Linked DNA regions of Homo sapiens: region 1 is linked to region 2. The links are contacts of gene promoters, found by promoter capture Hi-C in human tissues and cell types (Jung and others, 2019). All regions are on one chromosome and are shown on one strand. The core of a region is centred on a gene start or on the middle of the fragment in contact, and the rest is flanking DNA. Distances in the headings are between cores, read along the strand shown. Region 1 overlaps TMEM38B (transmembrane protein 38B). Region 2 holds the start of TAL2 (TAL bHLH transcription factor 2).

Region 1 (2,785 bases), core at 173-2,672, 43 kb before region 2:
CAATTCAAGAACAGTTATAACACTGTCCAAAAAGCCAAGGACAGAGGAATGGGCTCCAGACACCCCCGCCCCCTCCAGAGCAAGGTTAAGGAAAAAAAAAAGAGAGAGAAAGACAAATTCCTTTATTGTTACTCCTTTCCCTTGCCTCTTAAGCATAACGGTGTTTTACAAATGCCTGTATTTAGCCAATTCTTGTTTTTCTTTTGACACAGCTAAAAGGCCACCAGCTATGCAAGGCCACAAGTTATGCACTATATGATTAACTACCTTTGTTTTGCTCTTATGAGCCCACTTATAAAAACCTCGCTCTGTCTTTATTCAAGGCCCAGCTTTTTGGAGGTAAATCCACTGAGCCGGTGTGTACCTCACAATAAATATCCTCCTGTATTCACGCATACTGGTCTCTCTAATCCTCTGCGTCCCGCAACAAGCTGAGAGCGCGCCACTGCACTTGCAGTCTTGCACATAGCAAGACTATGTCTCAACAACAACAAAAAAGGTACATAAGACAATGGCAGACAATAATTGCTTCTGGGAGAAGATAAGGGAAAATAAAAAAGAAAGAGATATACTTTACACTTAAAGCCTTTGGCATGGCTGGGTGCGGTGGCTCACACCTGTAATCCCAGCACTTTGGGAGGCCGAGGCGGGCAGATCACCTCACGTCAGGAGTTCAAGACCAGCCTGGCCAACATGGTGAAACCCCGTCTCTACAAAAATACAAAAATTAGCCATGCGTGAGGGCGGGTGCTGTAATTCCAGCTACTCCAGAGGTTGAGGCAGAAGAATCACTTGAACCCAGGAGGTGGAGGTTGCAGTGAGCCAAGATTATGCCATTGCACTTCAGCCTGGGCAACAGAGTGAGACTCCGTCTCAAAAAAAAAAAAAAAACCCCTTAGCATTATTTGGGTTCCTTCCTTGCAGATGCATTAACTTTTCAAGCACGTAAAATATTGTTCAAAGAAAAAAAAATTCATTTTACTAACAATTTACAACACAATTGTTTAAATGTCACATAGGTCACCATACTGGCAGCTTACCAGATTGAAGATGCCAGTAATATGTTAGTGTGGTTTGCAAGAAACTTCAATGGAGGCTCTGCAAGCAGTAGACAGGATAAAATTCCTCCACCAAAACAGTGGAGCATAGCAGTAAACCAGCTTGAAATAGGATTCTTCCATGCCAATGCAGCTGCTCCTGAAATGGTAAAGTAAAATATGGTCTGTGATCATTATACATTTATTAAACAAGCCCCAAAGTACAAGTTGCACTAAACAAATAAACTTCTTAAATTCATAATTTTCAACAACTATTATTCATAGGTGTGCCAGTCAAAATCATTAAAAATCATACCTTTTATTCTTTAAAGCAAGACTGGAAACATTTTGTTAATGGGTGATTTTTGGCACTTTGGCACCTTTAAAATACTCTGTTCTGTTTAGGCTGTCATTGCCAGTTTCCTAGTAATGGATTATTATAAACGATATTCTCACTTATTGTCTCCTTCCATCCCAAACCCTACAGTAAGCACTCCCAGACAATATGTCAAAGTGATTTATTAAGAAAAATTTACAATCTTAAGTATATTGGAAAATAAAGAAGTTGAAATAAATAAACTAAGCTTTCAACAAGACAGGTGAGAAACAGAGTAACAAAATAAACCTAAAGGTGAAAGGTTTCTTAGGAATAGATATTTATACTACCTCAACACGAGTCTTAACTAATTACTTATTAATTGTAGAGGAAAATAATAACTTGAGAGTGGGGGAAACCTTTCAGACATCACTGTAAATAACATCAAGTGACTCCTGATATGATACACTGAGAACACATCATCACTTCTGTGGTATCTCTTTTTTTTTTTTACTTTGAGATAGAGTCTTGCTCTGTTCCCCAGGCTGGAGTGCAGTGATGCGATCTTGGCTCACCACAACCTCCACCTCCTGGGTTCAAGCAATTCTCCTGCCTCAGCCTCCCAAGTAGCTGTGACTACAGGCACCTGCCACCACGCCCAGCTAATTTTTGTATTTTTAGTAGAGACGGGGTTTCACTATGTTGGCCAGGCTGGTCTCAAACTCCTGATCTCGTGATCCACCCACCTCGGCCTCCCAAAGTGCTGGAATTACAGGCGTGAGCCACCGAGCCCGGCCACTTCTGTGGTTATTTCTAACAAAAATATACAACCTGAACTAATCGAATCAGACAAACCCAAACTGAGGGCTACTCTGAGAAAACAAAAACAAACAACAAACAACAACAACAACTGGCTTATATTTTTTAAATGTCAAAGTCAAAAAAACACCCAAAAAAAAGGCCAATAAAACATTCTAGATATGAACAATGTCTCTAACTCAAACTATATTTATTTATTTACTTAATTACTTATTTATTTATTTTGAGACAGGGTCTCGCTCTGTTGCCAAGGCTGGAGTGCAGTGGAGTGATCTCGGCTCACAGCAACCTCAGCATCCTGAGTTCAAGCACGTCTCATGCCTCAGCCTCCCAAGTAGCTGGGATTATAGGCACGCGCCACCACACCAGGCTAATTTTTGTATTTTTTTTTTATACTTTAAGTTTTAGGGTACATGTGCACATTGTGCAGGTTAGTTACATATGTATACATGTGCCATGCTGGCGCACTGAACCCACTAACTCGTCATCTAGCATTAGGTATATCGCCTGATGCTATCCCTCCCCCCTCCCCCTACCCCACAACAGTCCCCAGAGTGTGATATTCCCCTTTCTGTGTCCATGTGATCTCATTGTTCAATTCCCACCTATGAGT
Region 2 (2,754 bases), core at 120-2,619:
CCTGTAATCCCCACACCTTAGTGGGCGGGGGGCGGGGGGTGTCTTTTCTCCACAGATTTTTCCCGCAAGTCTCCCAGGTTGGTTTCTGCAGGGGTTATCTTTCTATTCATCAATCTTAAGATTTATTTTGTTCACCTTTGATCAAATGCATCTCATTTTTCAAAACCATCTTTAAAATCTGTTCTGAGGGAAGCATATGCTGCTACTCATTCATCTGAGATCCATTATGAGAAAACTTTTTTTGTTATTGTTGTTTTTGAGAGCGAGTCTTGCTCCGTTGCCCAGGCTGGAGTGCAGTGGCATGATCTTGGGTCACTGCAACCTCCCCCTCCCGGGTTCAAGCGATTCTCGTGCCTCAGCCTCCTGAGTATCTGGGATTACAGGTGCGCACTACCACACCTGGCTCATTTTTGTATTTGTAGTAGAGACGGAGTTTCACCATGTTGGCCAGGCTGGTCTCAAACTCCTGACCTCAGGTGATCTGCCCATCTCAGCCTCCCAAAGTGCTGGGATTACAGGCGTGAGCCACCGTGCCCGGCCCATCAATCTTAAGATTTATTTTGTTCACCCTTGATCAAATCTCATTTTTCAAAACAAACTTTAAAATATGTTCTGAAGGAAGCATATTCTACTTATTCATCTGAGATCCATTATGAGAAAACTTCTTTCTTATAACTGAAGACATTGAGTATAAACAGTGATTTTCAGCCTTTTTTTTTTTTTATTTAGAATTTTTTCTCCAAAAGTCTTATGCAGAACCTGGATTTAAAATAGGCAGAGGTAGGCCGCTCTACCTGACATCCCTGGGGGGTGGCGGCCCACAAGTGACATTCCTCATGGCTTCTTTCAGCTCCCTGCAGCTGTCTCTGAGCCACCTCCCAGGAAGCTAGAATTCATGCTTCACGAGTTATCATCAGGTCAACTCTGGAACATGCAAAAGTCTGTCCACAGGCAGTGATTTCTGGGCAAGTGCTGCCCTGGGAGATGACAGCCAGAGCCACACTAAGGAATGTGGTGGCTTGGACCAGGTGAAGGAACCTGGTAGTTCTCAAGCAGAGTTCTGTCCTCCAGGCCTGGCAGGTGGGGTCCTTGAGGGAAGAGCCCCAGAATGTTCCCCTGAGCAGCCACTCCCGTTTGTTGCAGGCTTTGCTCCCCCAAGACCTTGACCAAGAAGTTGATATACCTCATTGCCAGGCGAAGCGTTTCATTTTTGCTCAGCTTTTTGTCTGGAGGGTGAGTGGGGATGAGCTTCCTCAGCTTGGCAAAGGCGCTGTTGACATTCTGCTGCCTCCACCGCTCCCTGGTATTTGTGAAGATCTTCCTGGTCATGTTTGAGTTCCTGAGATGGAAAGAGAAAGGGCCCTCAGGGCCAATATCTTATAAGAGGCCTGATTGGTATCACATGTCCTGCCAAGAACCTGAGATGTTAGATTTTCTCGACTCAGAGCTTACGAGATTCATTTCCTCATTTTCAGGTTTTTAAAAAAGAAAACAACCCCACAGGGACACAAACATATGCCTCTCACCTTTCGAGGCATCAGTGACGCTATGAATTATGCATAATTTCTTTTTTTAACTTAAAAACAACAGGGGAAGGTAAGAACAACACCCTTCAGCTTTTTCTCTCTGGCTGTTTTGAAGCCTCCAGTTGAAAGATTGCTTTGTCCCAATACTCCTGTTTCTTCCTTTATAACCAACTCTTCCTAATTGTTCAGAATCAGGTACAATATTGATTGAGTTTATGTATAAATGCAACATATGTTTGGCCAATAGAAAGTTTGTTTTTTGTTTTTTGTTTTTTTCTTTTTTTGAGATGGAGTCTCACTCTGTCACCCAGACTGGAGTGCCATGGCACCATCTCAGCTCACTGCAACCTCCAGCTCCCGGGTTTGAGCGATTCTCCTGCCTCAGTCTCCGGAGTAGCTGGGACTATAGGCGCCTGCCACCACGCCTGGCTAGTTTTTATATTTTTAGTAGAGATGGGGTTTCACCATGTTGGCCAGCCTGGTCTTAAACTCCTGATCTCAGGTGATCCACCCGCCTCGGCCTCCCAAAGTGCTGGGATTGCAAGCGTGAGTCACGATGCCCGGCCACCAACAGAGAGTTGAATATGAATCAACAATGTATTATCAGAATGAAGTAAAAAAAGAAAATGATTGTAGGTTTCGTTAATAAAATAAAATTTGGAATAGAGAAGACAATACAGCTCTCTTGTTAGCTGGCAGACCTCACCTGGAGGATTCAGCCCCTCTCTGTAAGAACTAAAATATCCAGACTGGACTATATTTAGAGGAGCAGGAACAGAATGATGAAGGGTCTTGAAACCCTGGTGTATGAAGAACAGAAGTGGGGGTATTTAGTCTCGCAAAAATGAAAAGACAAGGGGCAGGTGGGAGTGGTGATTTGGCGTGGATTCTGTAGAAGATACTTGGGCCTCTTTGGGGCTGCATTGGATGACCTTTCCAAGTCTAGGAGAGTGGTTTATCATCACATACTGCCGAGCATTATGCAGGCATTTTTCACTCTTAGAGGCAAGAGTCCCTTTTTTCAAGTGGCTTGGATTAACATGTGCTAATAGGAACACTTGGGAGGCACTGGCAAACAAGCCCAAGTCTAGCCCCAGGCAGTTTGATGTTCTTGGCTTACTGCTATTGGTCTGCTGCCTGCTCCACGCTCAGCTCCTCTGGGCACTGGGCCCTTTCTAGTTCCTCCGAAGACTCATGAATATTCCCAACTCTACACTTTCGCACATTG

Evidence for each region. The method cuts DNA at HindIII sites, captures the fragments that hold promoters and counts their contacts. A contact is called where the count stands out against the background at its distance.
Region 1: a contact is called between a fragment that was not itself captured here and the fragment with the promoter of TAL2 in region 2, in 1 of the 25 tissues and cell types used here (thymus).

The regions. Positions count from the first base shown.
Region 1 is chr9:105,704,009-105,706,793 of GRCh38, reverse strand. It overlaps TMEM38B (transmembrane protein 38B), which reads right to left. Exons shown (of 6, transcript NM_018112.3): 2 at 1,041-1,197. It overlaps LOC107987107 (a long non-coding RNA gene), which reads left to right. Exons shown (of 4, transcript XR_001746868.2): 4 at 324-495. Among named protein-coding and RNA genes, the nearest start is that of TMEM38B, 11 kb to the right of the region's middle. The HindIII fragment of the contact is 6,802 bases long and covers 1-2,785 here.
Region 2 is chr9:105,661,072-105,663,825 of GRCh38, reverse strand. TAL2 (TAL bHLH transcription factor 2) reads right to left here and starts at 1,369. Exons shown (of 1, transcript NM_005421.3): 1 at 702-1,369. The coding sequence starts at 1,329. The coding sequence ends at 1,003. RefSeq lists an enhancer at 1,253-1,342. The HindIII fragment of the contact is 2,755 bases long and covers 1-1,881 here.